Regions from separate parts of the Homo sapiens genome. Here regions 1 and 2 are each linked to region 3. Evidence: promoter capture Hi-C in human tissues and cell types (Jung and others, 2019). All regions are on one chromosome and are shown on one strand. Each heading gives the region's core, a stretch centred on a gene start or on the middle of the fragment in contact. The rest is flanking DNA. Distances are from core to core; before and after follow the strand shown. Region 1 overlaps LOC102723870 (a long non-coding RNA gene). Region 2 holds the start of SPOCD1 (SPOC domain containing 1). Region 3 holds the start of TXLNA (taxilin alpha).

Evidence for each region. Contacts are between HindIII fragments. The study calls those that stand out against the background at their distance.
Region 1: a fragment that was not itself captured here is called in contact with the fragment with the promoter of TXLNA in region 3 in 1 of the 25 tissues and cell types used here (aorta).
Region 2: a contact is called between the fragment with the promoter of SPOCD1 here and the fragment with the promoter of TXLNA in region 3, in 2 of the 25 tissues and cell types used here (lymphoblastoid cells and small bowel).

The regions. Positions count from the first base shown.
Region 1 is chr1:32,606,288-32,610,134 of GRCh38, reverse strand. It overlaps LOC102723870 (a long non-coding RNA gene), which reads left to right. Exons shown (of 3, transcript XR_426677.5): 2 at 1-38; 3 at 808-1,586. Among named protein-coding and RNA genes, the nearest start is that of ZBTB8OS, 42 kb to the left of the region's middle. RefSeq lists an enhancer at 3,055-3,555. The HindIII fragment of the contact is 3,211 bases long and covers 211-3,421 here.
Region 2 is chr1:31,813,765-31,817,554 of GRCh38, reverse strand. It overlaps SPOCD1 (SPOC domain containing 1), which reads left to right and starts at 1,533. Exons shown (of 16, transcript NM_144569.7): 1 at 1,533-1,594; 2 at 2,183-3,604. The coding sequence starts at 2,222. The HindIII fragment of the contact is 15,941 bases long and covers 1-3,790 here.
Region 3 is chr1:32,178,164-32,181,538 of GRCh38, reverse strand. It overlaps TXLNA (taxilin alpha), which reads right to left and starts at 1,864. Exons shown (of 11, transcript NM_175852.4): 1 at 1,763-1,864; 2 at 1,025-1,225; 3 at 1-297. The coding sequence starts at 1,193. RefSeq lists enhancers at 861-910, 921-1,080, 1,201-1,280, 1,168-1,926, 1,927-2,686 and silencers at 1,481-1,660, 1,801-1,990. The HindIII fragment of the contact is 8,351 bases long and covers 1-3,375 here.

The sequences.
Region 1 (3,847 bases), core at 567-3,066, 430 kb before region 3:
ATACTTGTCATGAATGGATTGCAAACATAACCTTCAAGGTGGGAATGAAAATGGTACTCTATCTAAAAGTTGTGTTTTATTTTTAAAGCTTTTTTTAAAAATGGTAATTCTTGAAGAAATAAAGCAAAAGAGAAGTTTGCTTTGTTTCCAAATTCGTCTGAAGTCTTCTTTAAATAATACAGTAGTATTTTCCTGCCTCTCTAGTATTCCATTTAACTGGAACTAAAGAATGACTTAATTCAATTATTTTATGGAATTCTAAAGTGTAGCAATTGAGCTTTTACAGAGCTTGGAGTGTTCTGGTTCCTTTCTTTAAAAAGAAAATATTAAAGCTTGTAAAATTTCAGTATGTAGTATTTCAGTCACGTATTCATTACATAGTTCTTTTATTGGTTTGAAATACTGTGTGAATTCCCAGAATGCAATACCCATAATCAAATAAAATGCAAATGCATCCCAAAATAAAAATGGGGTATTTTAAGACTACTCATTATTTTATTAGAGTGTCGATATTACTTGTCTCTATTAAAAACCTTAGATAATGGAACATGCAGTGTGTCTTGAAATTTTACAAAAATAAATATTTTCCTGGACTGGACACCTCTATTTTTAAATTTTTCCTTAATGATACGGTTGAGAACCAGTGGACTGTAAGGTCAAATAGTCCTACTGCCTCTCCTTGGCATCTATATGGGGAGGACAGAGGGAAACCTTGAATGGGCCCTATTTTGCATGTCACAAACTTTGGGAAGCTTTTATTTATTTATTTATTTATTTATTTATTTATTTATTTATTTTTATTTTTAGAGCCAAGATCTTGCTGTATCGTCCAGGCTGAAGTGCAGTGGCACCATCATAGCTCACTGCATCCTTCACTCAGTGATCCTAAGGCTCAAGTGATCCTCCCACCCGAGCCTCCTGAGTAACTGAGACTACAGGCATGTGCCACCACGCCCACCTAATTTTTAAATTTTTTGTAGAGACTGCGACTTGTTATGTTGCCCAGGCTGGTCTCAAACTCCTAGGCTCAAGCAATCCTCCTACCTCTGTCTCCCAAAGTGTTGGGATTACAGGCATGAGCCACTGTATCCAGCCTAGGTTTTTTTTTTTCAGACGGAGTCTCGTTCTGTCGCCAGGCTGGAGTGCAGTGGCGCAATCTCAGCTCACTGCAAACTCCGCCTCCCGGGTTCAAGCGATTCTCCTGCCTCAGCCTCCTGAGTAGCTGGGACTACAGGCATGCGCCACCACACCCAGCTAATTTTTGTATTTTTAGTAGAGATGGGGTTTCACCATGTTGGCCGGGATGGTCTCGATCTCTTGACCTCCTGATCCACCCGCCTTGGCCTCCCAAAGTGCTGGAATTACAGGTGTGAGCCACCGTGCCCAGCCAGCCTAGCTTGCAAAAATACTTACACCCAAGCCCCACCTGCCCGAGATTCTGATTTGCCTAGGCATCTGTATTTTAAAAGATCCACAGGTGATTCTAATGTGCAACCAAAGTTGAGGATCTCTGGTCTAGGCAGAAATGTTGTTCCCTTTTTCCCTTATGGGCTGAATAAAAATAAGTTTCTCTTTAATAAAGAAAATAAGTAGTTGTAAGTAATATCAACAAGGAAATAAATGATTTTCCCAAGGGGAAAATCAAGAAACTATATAATGGAATTGTGTATCTGGAAATCTGAAAGAGCAAAGCAGGCAAAGTATAAAATTCTGCTTGCAAATGATCTAGCTAAGCGCAAAGGTAAAGGTAAAGGGTATTTCCCTGGTCTCTGGTTTCCTTTTTTCTTTTTGAGACAGTCTTGCTCTGTCACCCAGGCTGGAGTGCAGTGGCGTGATCTCAGCTCACTGCAACCTCCACCTCCTAGGTTCAAGCAATTATTGTGCCTCGGCCTCCTGAGTAGCTGGGATTACAGGCATGCGGCACCACGCCAGGCTAATTTTTGTATTTTTTATAGAGATGGGGTTTTACCATGTTGGCCAGGCTGGTCTTGAACTCCTAGCCTCAAATGATCCGACCACCTCGGCCTCCCAAAATTCTGGGATTACAGGTGTGAGCCACTGTACCCAGCCTCTGGTTTCCTATTTAAAGGTGAGAAAGTATGCAACGGATTTTGATGGTTTGAAGAAAAAAAAAAAAAAAGAAAGAGTAGGGAAAAGTGTTATACTATTTCAGTAATTGCAAAATATTTTGACTTCAAGATATTTTGACTTCAAGAGTCCCTTTGCTTCTATTGCTGTGTGGTTCATTACTTGTTAACATTATATTTAAATATTTTACTTTTTTGGTGGCATTAATACAGTTCTGTGGGGAGAAGGCTGACGTGAAAATGAAGTTTACAGATTCTCGGTGGATTTCATTTTTCTGGCCTATTCATAGGTCCATTAGCAGGAATAGTTAAGAAACTCCTGTATCAAAATTATATGTTACTTATACTTCACAATATATAAAACAGCTGGCTATATACTACCATTTCTGTGATAACTTGAATTTTATCATTAAAACTCTTGTAACTAAAGGCACCAGTGGCCCGTCTGTAACAGCCGCTGCTGCGATGCCAGCTGCAGTGAGGGAAACGCAGCTGAGGCTCACGGCTCCACGAAGCCCACAGGGGCTGGCTACAGGCAGGAGCCCTGCCCCTACTGAATCGGCAGGGCTGGAGTCCCACACTTCTGGGCACAGCTGCAGCCGCCCAGCTGCGGCTCCAGACCTGGGCATCCCTGCACTCTTCAGGGCTTGGGAAGCTCCCAGCGCCCACAGGCTCAGAAGTGCCTGCTCCCATTCCCTGGCCTCTTTCTGCTCCTGCACCTGCTCTGTTGCAGAGCAAAGTTGGGCCAAACCTAGGTGTTGTCGTGACCTGGCCAGGTTGAGCATGCTAGAGGTGGCACTGACACGCCAGCCCCCTGCCACCTCAGCCCCCTCTAAACTTTGGGCACCCATGTGCGTGGGAGGGAAGCCAGTCAGGGGGTTGATGACGGTGGCTTGGTTTGGGCCTGCAGGCGCCCCTTGGCACAGTCTGGGCACCATGGAGGGCATGTTGATGGCAGGAGGCAGACAGGTTCCTGGGTGGAAAAGGGTGGGTTCCCAGTGAAATCCCCCCTTCAAGCCAGGGAATGCCTGAAGCCTGGGGGTTGGTCTGGCAGTTCCTGGTGGAGTCCAGGGCTAGAGTAAGAACTTGTGGTGTTTTCTGGGCTGCCCATGGACACCCACAGACCAAGCAGCATGCACTTCCTCCCTTCTGAGCCCATAAAAACCCCTGGTCTCAGCAGACTCAGCCGGCTGTCAGGACTACCAGCTGCAGGAAGGAGCTACCCGCTTTGAGTCTCCTTAAAAGGACCTGCCTGCAGGTCTCCTCTTGGGTGAGAGCTGGTCATCTGGACACTCATCAGGTCGACCTGCCTGTGGAAAGGAGCTATCCACTTCGGGTCTCCTGAGAGCTGTTCTGTTGCAGAGTGAAGCTCCTCTCTGCCCTGTGGAAAGGAGCTACCCACTTCAGGTCTCCTGAGAGCTGTTCTGTTGCTCAGTGAAGCTCCTTTCGGCCTTGCTCACCCTCCAGTTGTCTGCGTACCTCATTCTTCTCGGATGCAGGAAAAGAACTCGGGACCCACCAAATGGTGGACTGAAAGAGCTGTAACACAAGCAGGGCTGAAACATGCTCCCTGCTCACCACGTTGTGGGCGACGAGAAGGAGAGAAGAGCTGCAGCCCTTCTGGCAGCCCAGACCTCGGGGCTCCCTGAGCCATGGTGTGACATGCTGTAACACCCTCTTTGGGGGTCTGCAGTTCCCGGCATCTCTGAGCTTTCGGGCACCACTGCGTTCCACTTGTCCAAATGCTGATGCCCGCAGCG
Region 2 (3,790 bases), core at 284-2,783, 360 kb after region 3:
ACATCAAGGGAAATTATCCATTTCACACAGAGAAGAGTCAAGAGATACAATATACAGAAGAAACAGACATTTAAGAATAGTATTCAAAGTGATAATAGAAACCAATAGTAAAATTTAAAATATAAATATAAAAAAGAGGGCCAGGCACGGTGGCTAACGCCTGTAATCCCAGCAATTTGGGAGGCTGAGGTGGGTGGAACACGAGGTCAGGAGTTTGAGACCAGCTTGGCCAGCATGGTGAAACCCTGTCTCCACGAAAAATACAAAAATTAGCAGGGCATGGTGGCACGTGCCTGTAGTCCCAGCTACTCGGGAGGGTGAGGTAGGAGAATCACTTGACCCTGGGAGGCAGAGGTTGTAGTGAGCTGAGACTGTGCCACTGCACTCCAGCGTGGGCGACAGAGCGAGACGCTGTTTCAAAAAAAAAAAAAAAATATATATATATATATATATATGAAAAGCGGAAGAGAAAGGGGGAAAGGGTGGTTAATAAAATCACCACAGCAGGAAGTCAACAGATACAACAGACACAGTTAAAATTAATAAATCAAGTAATAGAGGCATGAGTATATTATTTACAGTTATGAAATTTAAAAAATTAACATGATGACAAACATGGTAAAAAACAAAAAACAAAACACAGTTGTTTCCAGGAGTTGGGGTATTGGGAAATGAGAGATAGCTTTAAACTTTTTATTTCTAACCTTCTATTGGAATTGATTCTGCATTTCCATCTACATTAATTATATTTGAGATTTTCTTTTTAAATTAGGCAAGCACTATTCACAATAGCAAAGACATGGAATCAACCTAAATGCCCATCAATGGCAGATTGGCTAAAGAAAATGTGGTACATATACACAATGGAATACTATGCAGCCATAAAAAAGAATGAGATCACGTCCTTTGCAGGAACGTGGATGGAGCTGGAGGCCATTATCCTTAGCAAACTAATGCAGGAACGGAAAAACCAAATATTGCATGTTCTCACTTATAAGTGGGAGCTAAATGGTGAGAACACATGGACAGAAAGAGGTTAACAACAGACACTGGGGCCTGCTTGAGGGTGGAGGGTAGGAGGCAGTAGAAGATAAGAAAAAATAAATATTGGGTACTAGGCTTGATAACTGGGTGACGAAATAATCTGTACAACAACCCCCGTGACACAAGTTTACCTATATTAAAAACCTGCATATGGACCTCTGACCCTAAAATAAAAGTTTAAAAATAAAATAAAATAAAATTAGGCAAAAAATCTAGGTAATTCTGACATTGTCCTACTGGCTCAGGGACTATTGCGGTAGGATCAAGTTAAACTCTCAGGCAGGCAGCCAAGGCCCCTCGCTGCCCCATGCACCCACCTACCTCTGCTTGGGAGCCAGGATTGGCACCTCCTCCAGGAAGCCCTCAGGAGGAAGAGGGCGCCCTCTGCCGGGGCAGGAACGCCAGCACGCCTGGGGAGCAGCCTTTTGCTCATCATCAGGGACTCCGCCCCTATCCCTCAGCAAGGGCCTCCCTCCCCCGCATCACGTGATCTCAGCTCCTTTTCAGCTAGTGGGTGGAACCCCAGGAGGGAAAACTCAGGGAAGCCCAGGTGAGAGCGACGCGACCGATGGGGCCCGGATTTCTTGGATGCTGGGGGACTGTCCCAGTAAGGCTTGGGAACCTGGGTGGGGCGCCTTTCAGAACGGGACCGATGGGAGAGAGACGAGAAGGGTTATGGGCACGAACCCCGTTCAGTATCTGCTCCTTGCGCAGTGTGAGAACTGGGAGAGAGACTCCTGGCCCTTCCACTTCCTGTGCTTCCTTGGGTGAGTGTCTTAACATCTCAGAATCTCAGTGTCCTCACCTGTGGCTGCCAGTATGAAATGAAATAAGCACATAAGTCATAAATAAATGGTATCTTATTAGGTCCCATTTAAGCGAATGTGTGAACTCTCAGAGACAAGAAGACCCTGGAGGCCACTGTAGCTCGGCCCTGTTTGGAGGCAGGCCTCTCCACCCTCACCCAGGACACCAGCTCCTGCTGGGTGCTCCCCTCCCTGGAGTGCTCACCCCTAGGCCTCAGGAGTGGAAGGGTCTGGGAGAGCTGGCTGGAAGAGGGGCTCCTCCCAGTTCCCACTGAACGGGCTGACAGGTCGGACTCTCCAAGACAAAGTCTCCTCTTTCTGTCTCCACACAGGGCCCGTGTTGTGCTTTTGGCCCAGGTAGGTGGACAGACATGTCCCAGGCGGGGGACGTAGAAGGCCCCAGCACAGGAGACCCTGTGCTCAGTCCCCAACACAACTGTGAGCTTTTACAGAACATGGAAGGAGCCAGCTCCATGCCAGGCCTGTCACCAGATGGGCCGGGAGCAAGCTCTGGGCCCGGAGTCAGGGCTGGCAGCAGAAGGAAGATCCCCAGGAAGGAGGCCCTTCGAGGTGGCAGCTCCCGGGCTGCAGGTGCTGCTGAGGTCCGGCCAGGGGTCTTGGAGCTGCTAGCTGTGGTACAGAGCCGGGGCTCGATGCTGGCTCCTGGGCTCCACATGCAGCTGCCCTCGGTGCCTACTCAGGGGAGAGCTCTGACCTCCAAGAGGCTCCAGGTTTCTCTGTGTGACATCTTAGATGACAGTTGCCCCAGGAAACTTTGTAGCAGGTCTGCTGGCCTCCCAGAGAGAGCTCTGGCCTGCAGGGAGAGGCTTGCAGGAGTGGAGGAGGTGAGCTGCCTCAGGCCCAGGGAGGCCAGAGACGGTGGAATGAGTTCTCCAGGGTGTGACAGAAGAAGCCCCACACTCAGCAAAGAGGAGCCCCCTGGAAGGCCCCTGACATCCTCACCAGACCCAGTCCCTGTGAGGGTAAGAAAGAAATGGAGGAGGCAAGGGGCTCATTCAGAGTGTGAGGAAGGGGCTGGTGACTTCCTGTGGCTTGATCAGAGCCCTCGTGGGGACAACCTCCTGTCTGTGGGAGACCCTCCCCAAGTTGCTGACCTGGAGTCCTTGGGAGGCCCTTGCAGACCTCCCTCTCCAAAAGACACTGGGTCTGGGCCTGGAGAGCCAGGTGGAAGTGGGGCAGGATGTGCCTCAGGGACTGAGAAATTTGGATATTTGCCCGCTACAGGGGATGGGCCCCAGCCAGGCAGCCCCTGTGGCCCTGTCGGGTTCCCAGTGCCCAGTGGAGGGGAGTCCCTCAGTTCAGCTGCACAGGCTCCTCCACAGAGCGCAGCACTGTGCCTGGGGGCGTCAGCACAGGCCTCTGCAGAGCAGCAAGAAGCTGTGTGTGTCGTGCGGACTGGCAGCGATGAAGGCCAGGCTCCAGCACAGGACCAGGAGGAGCTGGAGGCCAAGGCTCAGCCAGCTTCCAGGGGAAGGCTGGAGCAAGGACTCGCTGCCCCCGCTGACACCTGTGCCAGCTCCCGGGAGCCCTTGGGCGGCCTCAGCTCCTCCCTGGATACTGAAGCCAGCAGGGCCTGCTCAGGCCCATTCATGGAGCAGAGAAGATCCAAGGGCACTAAGAACCTGAAGAAAGGTCCAGTGCCCTGTGCCCAAGACCGGGGCACAGACAGAAGCTCAGACAACTCCCACCAGGACAGGCCAGAGGAACCCAGCCCAGGAGGCTGCCCCAGACTGGTGAGCTGAGTCTGAGAGTTTGGGATAGGAAGGGCCTGGCCATGTTTCTCAATACCATACTTGGCAGTGGAATTTAATAAAGCTAAGCTAGATGGGCGCTTCATGAACATTCTCACATCCCTATTAACTAAACTGGGTAAAATGAGGCCCACAAACTGGGAAAGAGAAAATAAACTACATTCGCTG
Region 3 (3,375 bases), core at 615-3,114:
GGTCTCGGTCTCCGACCTCGTCACTCTGCCGGATCTCTTCTGTGTTTGGATCCCCCTTGGAGGGTTCCTTCTCTCCATTGACTACTGGAGTTGGTTCAGGCTCCCCATTCCTTGCCACATAGGTCCGGGACTTCTCTGCATCTTCGGGTTCAGCCGGCTCACCCTGTGCCCCATCCTCGCCGGGGCCCCCCTGGTTATTGTCCACACAGTATGTGCTCAGTATGTCTTCCAGTTGGCGGCTCAGCTCCTCAGAGACATCACGAAGGGCCCCAGACTGAGCCGTTCTGGCTTGAGCCCCTACAGCAGGAGAGGATGAGGGGTAGAGTGAGAAAGAAGACGATTATACCACTGGTTGGGATTTTTCAGGCCCAGCCAAACTCATCAGTTTGAGTTAAATGTTGCCTAACTTTTTTTTTTATGGAAACTGAGAAGCAAGAATGGAGTATCATTCAGCAAATCTAGTTCCTGTCAGAATTTAGATTCGAAACATCTTTTAAATCAAGAAATTATAGTAATCGTTGCCTAACTTCTTTAAGTCTGTTTACTTGTAAAATGACACAACTATTTCTCACTACCACCCGAACATATTTGTTAGATCATAAAAGTATGTAAAGCATCAGCACACAGGGATGGCACGGAGCAACTTCTAGTCCATCTCCTTCCCCCCCACAAAACCATTTCTTGCCATTCAGATCATTCTAGAAATGCCTCAAACAGGAAGGGCAGTTAGCTGCTGGTGGCTGAGGTGTTTCTAACGGGACCTGGATTTCCTGACTGGGTGCCTCGTTTGGCTGCCACCTGACTTAATCCCGTCGGAGCTTCTCTCCAGAACTCTGTTCCTGTGCTTAGAGGGGGCAGCTCCGCCAACTCGCCAGAGCGCAGGGGGGACCGCGGCCCCCAGCACTGTCCTCTCATTCTACATCTCCTCCTCCCGGACAACCTGGCCTCGGCCTGTAAGTCCAGAAGCGAGGCCGACCCCACAGCTCCTCCCCCTGCCCGCTGGCAACGCAGAGCTGGCACACACCCTCCGGCTTCCGAGGAGCCTGGCTGCTGCCGGGACCTTCTGCTTCTACTGCAGGAGCCGCCTGGCTGGGCCGCTCCTGGGCTCCCTCGGGTCCTGCTTCCGGTTGTCCTGGGCTGCTTTTTGGATTGGATTGTTTGGCAGCCCCGTTCTTTTTGTCTTGGTTCTTCATTGTGATGAGCGATGCTGGGTCAGGAGAAGATCCTTTAGAAACAAACACAGTTGCTATTTTCCAGACTTCGAAATTCTTCGCAGCCTGGATCAGAAATCCCCACAGCAGGCGCACAAAGCTTCTTAAAATAAACGGACCGGCAGGCCCGGGCGGAGGGCGCCAACGGCTCTCTGGTCTTGGCGGGTCAGGAGAGCCCGACGTGCCGGGGCAGGCTTTCGGGGCGCAGCTCCCACAGCGGGTGAGGGAAGAGGCCTCTTCTCCCTGGAGCCACTTCCCGGCACAACCGGCCCCCTCGCGGCAGGCCGGGCGCGGGATTGGCTCAGGGCCGGAGACTGACGTGGCGGGACTCCCGGCACCGCCCCCGCCCCTCAGGCCCCACGTGCGCCCCCCGCGCGCGCAGCCACCCACGCCCCGCGCGCCCTCAAGCCGCGAGGCACGCCCGCGCATGCGCATATCCCCAGACAGCCCCCGGCCCACGCGGGGAGTTGGCGTGATTTCCCCACAGGCCGAGAACATCCCGGCCCGCACACTCTCAAATAGTCTCGCCCACCGGCCGCCGCTGCACGTACCTCACCGCCGACGTCCGATGGCTTCCCCACCTCTGGCCTCGCACCGGAAACCCCGAGTAACTGCTGCCGGCCAGCCGCCTGCTCCCGCCTCAGCCAATCAATAGCCGGCGCCGGCGCGGAGCTTGCTGGGAAGGACGAAGCGAGGGCGGCCTCGGAGGCGGGCGCCCCGGCAGGGCGGGGCAGGGAAAAGACTACGCGTCCCTCTTTACGCAGGGGCTAGCCGCAGATCCCAAGGTGCATAAGGGACTGTAGTCCTGGGAGTCCAAAAGGAGCCCGTCATTCTGCACGAGTGCCCATGTCAACCTTGTTTCTATCTCGCAGAAGCTATGCTTCAACTCCCAAAGCCTTGCGCCTGGCTGTTGTTTCCTGCAGGCCTCCATCAAACCTTCCTCCCTGGCCGTGAACAAATGTGACTCCATCCGGGAACTCCGAGGACTCGGGAAGAGGGATAGAGTCCTGGGCTGAGACTCAGGAGACCCATACTCCAGTCCCAACTTCATCACGGATTTGCTGTGTGGCTGGACGTTCTGTTCTCTCTCTGGGCCTCAATGTCCTTCTTCCAAAGGAGGCTTTTAATAACAATAGCAGTTCCTTGAACGCTTACTGTGTGCTTTCCCGCTATCTAATAGCTTGGTTCTCATAACCACTCATAGAAATAACTACTATCTGTTATCCCCATTTTACGGAAAAGGACAGTAAGAGAAAGGTTAGGTAACTTATCCAAGGTCATATCGATAGTGAGTGGTTAAAACAGGGATTCAAAACTGGTAAGTCTGAGACCAGCACCCAGGTAATTACCTGGTCTTTCACCCAGAAGAAACACTACCACAGCAGGTTTCCCTGAGGCAGTCAAGGTAACTTGTGAAAGTAGGTCATATTTTCCCCTCTCCATTACCATTTTGGCAGTCAGTTCCTCAGAAAGGTGCTGAGTTAGGCTTCAGGCATATTCATGAGCCTTTTCTCTACCCCACACTCTACAAAGTCTCACTGGGGTTAAAGTAGAAAAAACCCCCACAGTTCCCTACACATGAGATCACAATTCTGTATCCCCATTGCTTCTGGATAATGAAATCAAACCCAACAATCCTTGTGCCTGGAATTTGAAGCCTAAGAGATTTGACTTTTGCCAAACCCAAAATTTTTTGAGGCCCAGTTCAAAGGTCACTTCAGAGCCTTCCCAGTGCTCTGCAAACCGTACTTGCTCCCTAGGTCTGCAGAGTTGTTACAGCATTAGCAGTGAGGTGTTGAAATTACTATTTACTTATAAGTCAGTTAATTTTGCAAGAACTGTTGGCTAAATAGTCTAGTCCCAGAGCCTCGCATCAGGCTGTGGGTAGAGAAGATTGTAAACTGTTGTGCTAATTGAGCGTTGGTTTAGGGCTGTTAGGATGTTAAATATTTCCCCCAAAGGCTCAGTGAAAGACTTCAGAGCCGTGCATGTTGGATTTCAGATTTTCAGATTGGGGAAGCTCAACCGGTAAAATTTGAGAAAATCCCAAATTGGAAACACTTCTGGTCCCAAGCATGTTGGATAAGAGATATTCAATTTTTAGTATAATGATGGAACTGAGGCTCAGAAAGGTTGGAATCTAGATGTCCTGAAACCAAGGCCC